Linked DNA regions of Homo sapiens: region 1 is linked to region 2. The links are contacts of gene promoters, found by promoter capture Hi-C in human tissues and cell types (Jung and others, 2019). All regions are on one chromosome and are shown on one strand. Each heading gives the region's core, a stretch centred on a gene start or on the middle of the fragment in contact. The rest is flanking DNA. Distances are from core to core; before and after follow the strand shown.

Region 1 (5,517 bases), core at 2,477-4,976, 240 kb before region 2:
CTCACTGTCATCCCACACTTTGGGAAGCCAAGGCAGGCAGATCACGAGGTCAGGAGTTTGAGACCGGCCCGGCCAGCGTGATGAAACGCCATCTCTACTAAAAATACAAAAACTAGCTGGGCGTGGTGGCGCCCGCCTGTAGTCCCAGCTACTTGGGTGGCTGAGGCAGGAGAATTGCTTGAACCTGGGAGGCGGAGGTTGCGGCGAGCCGAGATCGTACCATTGCAGTCCAACCTGGGCGACAGAGCGAGACTCGGTCTGCGGCGTGGGGGAACCTGTGAGCAGCAGGTCATGTGGTTTGCCACCACAGATAGGGCACAAGGTTCCGTGTGAGGCCCCTCAGTCAGGACGGCATCTGGGAGGGAGCCCCACGGAGGCTTCACGGCAACGCCAGCATGGAGGGAGCCGGCACTCACCTAGGGGGCTGTAGGATGAGGCTGCAGAGCCCAGTGTGCCCGGCTCTGAACGCAGGGGTGGCGGCTGCTGGGGAGGCGTCATGGCTGAGGAGCCCACCGGCCCTGGGAGGGGCTGGGACAGCGAACCGAGCGGCGAGGTGGACGCAGAGGATGGCGAGTGTAGCGATGGTGCTCTGGGCAGGGAGCCGGGGATGGCGACAGGTGCAGAGCCGGCCAGCGACCTGGGACCTGGCGGGGGCGGACCAGTCAGCGAAGGGAGTACCGCCAGGCCTCTGCCCAAACATCTGCCATGGGCGGCAGCCGTGGAAGACGGACCCTGCAGGTGGTGGTGGTGGGGATATGGGGGGTGGGAATATAGGGGCCAGGCCAGCCACCACCATCTATGTGTTTGGAGCCACAGCGCCCCCGGTGGCCATGTCCAACACAGCTGGGCAAGCCATGGGCTCAAAGGGATTCCAACCAGAGGTGGGGAGACGGGGGTTTAACATGGGCCCCCCCCAAAGAGGCCGGACACCCACCAGGCCCTGCCGGCCAACTAAGCCATTGGCACGGTCCTCCCAGCACTTGTCCAGGCCCCCTGAAATGGTTTACTTTCTTTTAAAAGAAAGAAAAGATACACTTTTAGGCTGAATGAAAAGATGTTGTATACGATGTTAAGATACATTTGTATGGGGCCGGGCGCACTGGCTCACGCCTGTAATCCCAGCACTTTGGGAGGCCAAGGCGGGCAGATCACGGGGTCAGGAGATGGAGACCATCCTGGCTAACATGGTGAAACCCCGTCTCTATTAAAAATACAAAAAATTAGCTGGGCGTGGTGGCGGGCACCTGTAGTCCCAGCTACTCCGGAGGCTGAGGCAGGAGAATGGCGTGAACCCGGGAGGTGGAGCTTGCAGTGAGCGGAGATCGCGCCACTGCACTCCAGCCTGGGCGACAGAGCGAGGCTCTGTCTCAAAAAAAAAAAAAAAAAAAAAGATACATTTGTATGGATGTCAATCTTTTGTCTACAATGTGAATACATTTATCCTTCGGGGACCATCAAGACTTTCAGGAAAGGCCCCGCCTGTCTCTGCGCGGCCACTTTGCTGGGACAAAGGTCAACTGAAGAAGTGGGCAGGCCCGAGGCAGGAGAGATGCTGAGGAGTCCATGTGCAGGGGAGGGAAAGGGAGAGGCAGTCAGGGAGAGGAGGAGGAGGTACCGCCAGAAGGGGATCCTCCCGCTCCGAAAACCAGACACCGGGTCTTGCCCTGTGGTCCAGGCAGGAGTGCAGTGGTGCAACCTCAGCTCACTGCAGCCTTGACCTCCCCGGGCTCAAGCGATCCTCCGGCCACAGCACTTGGCTGTTCAGCGGCTGGAGGAGCAGGGCCCCAGGTCCTCCCCACCCTCACCTGCTGCTCCCAGGTCGTGGCCGTCTTGCTCTTCCAGGTCCTTCTCTAGGGATGCAATATTCACATTGCTAAGATGCAGGTCTAACGCAGAACCTGTCAACAGAGCCCCCCATCATCCACAGCCCACCCAGCGCTGCAGAGCTCAGGAAGCCTAGCTGAGGAGGACGACCGTCCCACCTGGGCTTAGAGTGAGACCAAGGGCAGAAGGCGTGGGAGTTGCTGGGGCAGCCAGGGAAGGACACCCCCAGCCCGTCCTCGCAGCCCCCCACAGGCAGTGTGAGGCTTGGCTGTTCCTCCGGCAAAACGAGCGTGCTCAGGTGGGACGCCCCGCACCACAGACCAGCAGCTGGGTCCTCGCCTCTGACACGCTGCTGCTGCCCCTCAGAGTTTAAATACCTAAGTGTGTGTTAGCATCTGTCCACGTGTGCACATTCGACTGTTTAAAAAACTTTCCAGGGCCGGGTGCGGTGGCTCACACCTGTAATCCCAGCACTTTGGGAGGCCGAGGTGGGCAGATCACAAGGTCAGGAGATCGAGACCATCCTGGCTAACACGGTGAAACCCCGTCTCAACCAAAAAAAAAAAAATACAAAAAATTAGCCAGGCGTGGTGGCGGGTGCCTGTAGTCCCAGCTACTCGGGAGGCTGAGGCGGAAGAATGGTGTGAACCCCAGAGGCGGAGCTTGCAGTGAGCCGAGATCGTGCCACTGCCCTCCAGCCTGGACGACAGAGCAAGATTCCATCTCAAAAAAAACAAAAACAAAAACAAAAAAAAAACTTTCTGTGAGGGTGATTTCAAGGAGCAGGTGTTCACGTGCAATTTCATGCCAAGCACCAAGACCTCAATTCCCAAGGCTCAAGACTGAGTGGGAAGGACCCGCCTCAGAGTGGCCTCACCCAGCCAGCCCTGCCTTCCAAGGCTGTCCCCACACATCCCTGCAGGCCGTGGGGCTGCCCTCCTGCACGGGCCCTTCCCTCCCAAGTCCCCACCCCCAACCCCGAATGGCAAGCAGGGACCCCACTGCCCCTTCCTAGAATTAGGAAGCCATCATGAGGAGGCTGAGCTCAGGCCACCAGCCCCTGAAGCCACAGCGTGTCTCAAACTCCCGCAGCCACTGCACAGAAGTTGGGTTGGGGGTGAGGGGTGACCAGAGGATCTGGGATCTGAGAGCCCACGTGCCACCTGGGGCAGACCAGAGGACCGCAGCGGCTGCAGGAGCTCTGGGATACACCCTGTGGGCCGGCGCCGCCTCCCCAGCCCAGCCCAGTGTTGTGGCCAACACCGCACAGAGACCTCAGCAGCGTGGGGCACACCGCACAGGGACTGCCGGCCTACACTGCACAGAGACCTCAGCAGCGTGGAGCACACCACACAGGGACTGCCGGCCAACACCGCACAGAGACCTCAGCAGCGTGGGGCACACCACACAGGGACTGCCGGCCAACACCGCACAGAGACCTCAGCAGCGTGGGGCACACCACACAGGGACTGCCGGCCAACACCGCAGAGACCTCAGCAGCGTGGAGCACACCACACAGGGACTGCCGGCCTACACCGCACAGAGACCTCAGCAGCATGGAACACACCACACAGGGACTGCCGGCCAACACCGCACAGAGACCTCAGCAGCATGGAACACACCGCACAGGGACTGCCGGCCAACACCGCACAGAGACCTCAGCAGCATGGAACACACCGCACAGGGACTGCCGGCCAACACCGCACAGAGACCTCAGCAGCGTGGAGCACACCGCACAGGGACTGCCGGCCAACACCGCACAGAGACCTCAGCAGCGTGGAGCACACCACACAGGGACTGCCGGCCAACACCGCACAGAGACCTCAGCAGCGTGGGGCACACCACACAGGGACTGCCGGCCAACACCGCACAGAGACCTCAGCAGCGTGGGGCACACCACACAGGGACTGCCGGCCAACACCGCACAGAGACCTCAGCAGCGTGGGGCACACCGCACAGGGACTGCCGGCCAACACCGCACAGAGACCTCAGCAGCGTGGAGCACACCGCACAGGGACTGCCGGCCAACACCGCACAGAGACCTCAGCAGCGTGGAGCACACCGCACAGGGACTGCCGGCCAACACCGCACAGAGACCTCAGCAGCGTGGAGCACACCGCACAGGGACTGCCGGCCAACACCGCACAGAGACCTCAGCAGCGTGGAGCACACCGCACAGGGACTGCCGGCCAACACCGCACAGAGACCTCAGCAGCGTGGGGCACACCGCACAGGGACTGCCGGCCTACACCGCACAGAGACCTCAGCAGCGTGGAGCACACCACACAGGGACTGCCGGCCAACACCGCACAGAGACCTCAGCAGCATGGAACACACCGCACAGGGACTGCCGGCCAACACCGCACAGAGACCTCAGCAGCGTGGAGCACACCGCACAGGGACTGCCGGCCAACACCGCACAGAGACCTCAGCAGCGTGGAGCACACCGCACAGGGACTGCCGGCCAACACCGCACAGAGACCTCAGCAGCGTGGAGCACACCGCACAGGGACTGCCGGCCAACACCGCACAGAGACCTCAGCAGCGTGGAGCACACCACACAGGGACTGCCGGCCAACACCGCACAGAGACCTCAGCAGCGTGGGGCACACCACACAGGGACTGCCGGCCAACACCGCACAGAGACCTCAGCAGCGTGGGGCACACCACACAGGGACTGTTGCGCAGGCGCCCTCCCCGCTGCCCACCTTTGGCATCCACTCTCCCATGTGCGCTGTGTGGGGTCTCTCCTGGGGGGCCCTGCCCTGTCGTCCCTGCTGGCTGCAAGTTCTTGGACCCTCACTGATGCCTGGTACTGGACAGTGTGCTGCTGAGGCCTGCTCTGAGACAGGCAAAGCCACCCCTGCCTGTCCCTGAAGGGCCCTAGACCCCCTTCCTCCTGTCCTCACCTGGGACCGATGGTCCCTCCATGGCCCCAGGCAACCGCACCCCGGGGAAACCTGTCAGACCCGACCGTGGGGGTCGGCGCGCCGGGAACCTCCACAGCCTGGCCAGCCCCTGCCTGGTGCTCGGTTCAGACAAGCTGGGGCCCAGCAGAAGCAAAGAGGCGGTCACTGCCCCACCTACCCGACATCGAGTCCCGCCCTCGCAGACCTCCTGCAGCCTCACTCCCCACAACCCACCCCACCCAGCAGGGAGCTGGCTGAGCCAGGCAGGGCTGACTCGTCAGGACTTGGTGGCCATGTCAGGGTGACAGCAGGTTCACCACACAGGGGGCATCCCAAAAAACAGCTGGAGAAACAAGGACTCGGCAGCCAAGGGGCCGCAGAGGGACAAAACCCCACTCTGCCGGGGAAGACAGCTGGGGCCTTTCCAGACATTTTCAGCATAATCAGCAGGAAAGGCAGGAGGGTGACTTCTGAAGAAGAACGCTGCCCTAGCCGCACATGAGATTTGTCGGGAACACAGCTGTGGGGCACGTGGCCTGCACCTCACCCCTCTGCCCAGGCCTCCGCTTCTCCTCCCTGGAAGCAGCTGGCACCAGTCAGCGCCACGGGGACCATGGGAGCAACCACAGGGTGGCGGGTGGCCCCTCGCCCGAGGCCTGGCGCTCGGCGGTCACACCCCCCGAGCCCCCCAGGGCAGCCGGAGTATCCTCGTGCCGCGGTGGTGGCCCCAGCGGAGCACAGGCAGAGGCTGGCGTGGACGTGGCGCAGCTGGCAGGTCCGGGCC
Region 2 (5,631 bases), core at 542-3,041:
CAGGGCCGACCCAGCGAGTGACCAAACATAGCATGTTTTTGTTTTGCATCTCTCGTTTGTCCCGTTTCGCCTCGGGGGTGTGATGGCGCCGCCCACCTCCCCACCCCGCCCATTCCAAAGGGACTCTCCCAGCTACCGGAATCAGCCGCGATTCGAGGCCGGGCGGGGGCGACAGCCATAGTCCGACGAGCGACCTGGACCCCGCGCCAAGCCCGCCCCAGCCTCGATGGGACTCGCGAGGGGCCGCGGGGACTCGGCGGCGCCGGGATCGTGGGAGGAGACGGGAGGGTCCCGACGCCCGCCACCGGTCACATCCTCGGCCCCAAACCCCGGCCTGGCTCCTAAGGACCTGGGTCGGCCGCCCTAGCCCTAAGGCCACTCACCTCTGCCAGGCCGCTGAGCCGCCGCGCGTTGCCGGGACAACGGCGCGCCAGGAACGCGGAAATAGCCGAAGGTGAGCGAGGCGGCCCCGAGGACTCCCGAAGCGCCCCGAGCGGCCGGAAAGAGCCGAAGGCGATCGGGCACGCACGTGCAGCTCCGAGGCCCGAGCGTCGGGGGCCAGGTTATTCCGCTCTGCAAGAGAGAAGCGGGACGAGCTTTTTCTAGGAGAGACGGCGGCGCAGGGCCGGCGTCTGGGTCCCCTTTGTGTGGAGGGCGCGCTGTCACAGCCCCGATCAACCGCGGCATCCTCCCCTCCTGGGCGTGTTCCCTTCCCGTGCATCCCGAGGCGGAGCCTTTCCAGCACGCGGCGGTCTCGGCCCAGGCCTTCCCTGGGCTCCGCTTTTCTAGTTTCGGAGCGGAGGGCGTGGGTCAAGCGTTTCTGGGAAAGTCGATGCGCTCGGCAGTGTCCTGAGGTGTTGGGTGACTGAGGGCCTGTTCCATCGCCGGGCCCCGGACTCCACAGAGCCAAGCGAGGCAGGGAGCGCCCCCAAGAAAGCAGCTGGCGGCCGGACGCGGGGCTCGCGCTTGGGCTTCCAGCTCTTGGGGGCTGGGGCGGGCGGATCGTTGGAGCCCAGGAGTTCGAGACCAGCCTTGGCAACAAGGCGAGATCCTGTCTCTAAAAAATTACAAAAATTAGCCGGGCGCGGTGGCGCCTCTAGTCTCGGCTACAGGAGGCTGAGGGAGGAGAATCGCCTGAGCCCCGGGAGGCGGAGACTGCAGCGAGCCGAGATCGGGCCACTGCACTCCAGCCTGGGCGACAGAGCGAGTCAAAAAAAAAAAAAAAGAAAAGAAAAAGAAACACTGGAATTTGAGCCGGGCGCGGTGGCTCACGCCTGCAAACCCAGTACTTTGGGAGGCTGAGACGAGCGGATCACTTGAGGTCAGGAGTTCGAGACTAGCTTGGCCAACATGGTGAAACCCCGTATGTACTAAAAACACACAAATTAGCGAGTATGGTGGCGCGCGCCTGTAATTCCAACTACTCGGGAGGCTGAGGCAGGAGAATCGCTTGAACCTGGGAGGCGGAGCTTGCAGTGAGCCAAGATTGCGCCACTGCACTCCAGCCTGGGCGACAGAGCGAAACTCCGTCTCAAAAAAAAAAAAAAAGAAAGAAAGAAACACTGGAATTTGAAAAACACCCCTCTGCTTTCTTGCTATGAAGAAAATGACCAAGTGCCCAGCGCCGCTCGGCTACGCTAACGTAGCGCAGAAGCACATACTCCACCCAGGAAAGGGTGCGCTTAACTGCCTCAGACGTGCTTCCACACTTCTCAGAACTCAGGTTCGCGCCCGATTCCACACTCCGAGCTACCACGCCGTTTTCTTCTCACGTATCCGTCAACACTGCTGCGGCCAATCACAGCACGGGCCCTGGCCTATTGGCTGTCTGTCCACCAATCCAAAGAGACGCACAGTCCGCAAGGTCGCGAGGCTGGCGTCACAACACTACTGGCGCCGCGGGCTCGCCCCCGACGCCCACCGGGCTCGTACGTGCGAGCGCGCCCGCCCAGCGCTAGCCAATGGGAGCGCCGTTTTGGGGAGACGGGCCCGAAGAAACATTGGGGGTGCTCGCCCCCGCGTTCGTCGCCCCGCCCCGCGCGCCCGCGCACCCCGGCCCCGCCCCCGCGCGCCGTCCGTGAGGTCCCCACCGGCCGCCGTAGCCGGAACTGCTGCTGAGGGCGGCGGGCCGGCTTCGCTAGGGTGAGTGGCGGCAGTATCTGCGTCCGCAGCCCCCGCAGCCGCGCGCCGGCCCGCGGAGGGGACGTGCCGGGGCTAGCGCCGCTCGACCAGTCGCTTCCGAGGCGGACGACCAGCCCGGCGTTGCGGCCTCCCTGCAGCCGGCGCTCGGGGGCCGGGGCTGCCCGGCCCGGCTGGTTCTGCGGGCACCCGGGGAGGCCCCGGGAAGCCAGGCTGCCGCCCGGCGTTGATGAAAAAGGTGACCAAGGCTGGGCGGCGGGGCTGTCATGGCGAGGCCCGGCCGGGGGGTCCTGTCGGGCGGCGCGGGAGAGCGCGGGGGGGGCGTCGCTTCCACAGCGCCCGGTACAGCCACAACTGGCCTCAGGGCGAGGAGGCTTCTGCGTCCCCATCCCGAGACGCGAGCCGGTGCGGAGCGGGACGGGGCTGGAGGAGACTGCGCCTCCGAGAAAAGTCCGGTCTCGTTGGAGGTTCTCGCGAAAAGGAGGCCATCCCCCTGCTTGTTGGCCCTTAGGGTAAAGTCTGGACGGCGTCGGTCCTTTCAGTGGCGAAAAGCGCTTCCCCGTGCTCGGTCGGCGTCTTGGGTGTGGAGCCCGGCGAGCGGGCGAGTTCACTCTGGTGGCCGAGTTTGTTTTGCTTGGGTCCCGGGTGGCCTGCGGGCGGACAGGTCCCTGGGCAGCGGGGTTCTCAGCCCGAGACGAGGTCTTTGGGGGTTTAGGTTTCTTGAGTGGAAAGAGGTGGGTTGAGGGGGAAGAGTGGGAAGTCTTGCCACGAAATCCCTTAAGTTGGGGTGTTTGTCGTGGGTGGTTTTGTTCTTTGGCAGAGTTTTTTTTAAAACTAGCATGAACTCGAGATTCCCTAGACCAATTCCGACAGGAGAAAACGGCCACGGATCCTTGTGTGATCTGCACCTCAGGGTGGGGGCATCATTGCGACTTTGAAGCCATTTCCCGATCTCTCGGAAAGAGAGGTCCTCGCCCGCGTCCCTGTATTTCGTGGTTGGTGTTGGTGCCTCGATCGTGTGTTCCTTTGAAGTGGAAATGCCCCCGTTCTCAACAGTTGAGTTGAACGCAGGGTCAGTATCTGCTGAGGAATCTAATCTTCAGCGTTTTTGCTTCCTCACACGTGCCCGTCCCGGACTGTTTCTGGGCTGCAGCTCTTGCTGTGTACCTGATTGTCTGAGTTTATTTTTGAGTGGCTCTGCTTTCTGGGCTGCAGCATTTTTAGTCACTGCACTTTGTTGTTGACATTTTACAGGGCGGTGGGTAGCAAAGTTGATGCAATAATTTTATTAATTGTTGCCAAGAGTTTTAACACCATTGTCTTCTACCGCTTCTTGCACCTGGACCCGGACATAACTGGGCTGTCACTTTCCCGGGTGGTTCCAACCTGTTCCATGCAACAGGCTCCTTTGTTGCAAAAGCATTTTTAACTAGTAAATCCCCGCAGCAGCTCACATTTCCCACCCTGGGAAGAAGATTCCCAGAGACCCGGAGCTGATTATTCTTTATGTGTGTTTTAAAATAAGCAGGCGGGCCGGCGGCATTGGGCCACCATGGAGTTCCCCGTGCGGGCAGGCGAGCCCGCGCTTCTCCCGTCCCGGGGTGGATCCGGCCTCCTCTGTCCTCCTCCAGGGCCAGCTCTGGGGGCCGGCGCGTGGGGCAGGTGCGCGGGGCCCGGGAGCCCCGCGCCTTTCGGGGGGCGGGGAGGGGGTGGGACGAGGGGCTAGGGCTGGGGCTGCGGCCCGGCCGGCCGAGGCGGCGCAGGGAGCGAGGCCGGCGCGCAGGGCCAGGCCATGAGCCGCGGCCCCGCCGGGTAGGTGGCTGTGGGCGGGGCAGCGGCCCGGACCCGCAACCGTGCCCAGACCCGCGCCCGCGCCGGGGCTCCCATAGACCCCGGGGCCGGGGCCGGGGCCGGGGCCGGGCAGGGTCCGCCGAGCTGTCGCGCCCTCCCGCCGCCGGCCCGGGCGTCTGGACGCGAGCCTCGGCCAGGGGGCGTCCGGGGAGGCCCGGGAGGGTCCCGGGCTGGTGGGCAGGGCCGGGGGCGGCGGCGTGGGGGCGGCAGGGGCCGCGGCGGGCTCGGGCGGGCTCGGGCGGGCCGGGCCGAGCCGCCGAGAGGGGATTTGGAACAAACAACGGCGGCCATGTTGAGAGCGCGTCGGGGCCGCTAAACTTCCCGGCCTGCGCCCGCCTCACCGGCCGCCTCCCCTCTCCCGGCCGCAGGATGACAGTGAAGTTGGGCGACGGCGGCAGCGGGGAGGACGGGCTCAAGAAGCTGGGCAAGCGGGCGGCCGATGAGGAGTCCCTGGAAGGAGAAGGGGCCGGCGGCGCAGACGCGGCCGAGGAGAGCAGCGGCACAAAGAGGGACGAGAAGACCCCCCGGGCCGGCGCCGACGGCCCCCCCGCGCCCCCCGGCGCGCCGCAGGCGCCGTCCCCGCCGCAGGGCAGCCCCCAGGACCAGCACCACTTCCTCCGGTCCAGCGTGCGGCCGCAGAGCAAGAGGCCCAGGAAGGATCCTCCGAGCGCTGTGGGGAGCGGCAACGCCGGTGGCTCGGGGCCCCGCGGAAAAGGTAGGGCGGCCCGTCCCCTTGGGAGACCCCAGCCCCTCTCCGGGGTGTGCCGCGGGGGAGAGGAACCCCTCGCCCCAGCCGGGCTCCACCCTAGCTCACCCATCCCGCGGCCTACACTGAGGCTCTCAATTTGGGTGGCACTTATGGGGCATGTGTCCCCTCTCTCCTTCGAAGAGGCTGCGACTTTCTATATTTAAACTCTTTGAAGAGGCAGTGAGTATCCTTTTTTGGGGGGGAGTCGAAGAGATCCCTTAAAGCTGTTTCCTTTCCAAAGGATCACTGATGGTTTTCTATGGTTTTGTGTTTCAAACAGCGGACAATAGTTCGGAAACGGGAAGAGAAAAAAATACCTGCTGTATCTCTTTCCCAGACATCAGGCGGTGGAAATGCACCAAGGGAGCAGGCTTTTGAAACTCATTGGGGGGAAGATGGGTAAGAAGCGGAGAAAGGATCCTTGGGGTCTGACTTGGACCCATTGTCCTCTCCTTCAAGTGCTCCTGGGTTGAGAGTAGGAAGGGCATAGAGATGGGGCCCTTTGAGTTGCAACTGGGGTTTACTTCTGTGCCAAAGAAAGGAAAGAGTGGTGAAAACGATTGACATGAACAAGCAGCAGCTTGTAGTGTTCGCCCTTGTATTCTGAGGTGATGGAGAATGTTGCTACTTAGCTGGGGTCTCTTACCAAGATAGTAAGAAAACGGCATGTTAGTTTCGTTCTCCATGTGCCAGTGCTTCATTGTTGTCTGCTCTTATTTCTATTTCAGTCTTGTGCTTTTCCTTACGCAGGTGAATGACTCTGATTCTTTTTGTTTCCGACCATGTTCGCAGCACTTTGTATAAATAGCAAATATAACATCAGCTTCCAGTGAGTTTCACGTGAAAAAAAAATCTTTCACTTCCTTCCTTGGGAAATGCTCGTTTACATTTAG

Evidence for each region. Contacts are between HindIII fragments. The study calls those that stand out against the background at their distance.
Region 1: a contact is called between a fragment that was not itself captured here and the fragment with the promoter of IFT140 in region 2, in 1 of the 25 tissues and cell types used here (dorsolateral prefrontal cortex).

What each region holds. Positions count from the first base shown.
Region 1 is chr16:1,369,714-1,375,230 of GRCh38, forward strand. UNKL (unk like zinc finger) reads right to left here. Exons shown (of 15, transcript NM_001372107.1): 11 at 1,806-1,898; 12 at 417-644. It also overlaps the pseudogene TJP1P1. Among named protein-coding and RNA genes, the nearest start is that of GNPTG, 21 kb to the left of the region's middle. RefSeq lists an enhancer at 5,459-5,517. The HindIII fragment of the contact is 5,493 bases long and covers 981-5,517 here.
Region 2 is chr16:1,610,281-1,615,911 of GRCh38, forward strand. It overlaps IFT140 (intraflagellar transport 140), which reads right to left and starts at 1,792. Exons shown (of 31, transcript NM_014714.4): 1 at 1,688-1,792; 2 at 384-573. It overlaps CRAMP1 (cramped chromatin regulator 1), which reads left to right and starts at 2,080. Exons shown (of 21, transcript NM_020825.4): 1 at 2,080-2,377; 2 at 4,359-4,705. The coding sequence starts at 4,360. It overlaps LOC105371046 (a long non-coding RNA gene), which reads left to right. Exons shown (of 3, transcript NR_135176.1): 3 at 1-48. RefSeq lists silencers at 119-498, 1,737-2,266, 2,287-2,406, 2,437-2,596 and enhancers at 1,527-1,586, 1,975-2,475, 2,476-2,976. The HindIII fragment of the contact is 16,182 bases long and covers 1-5,631 here.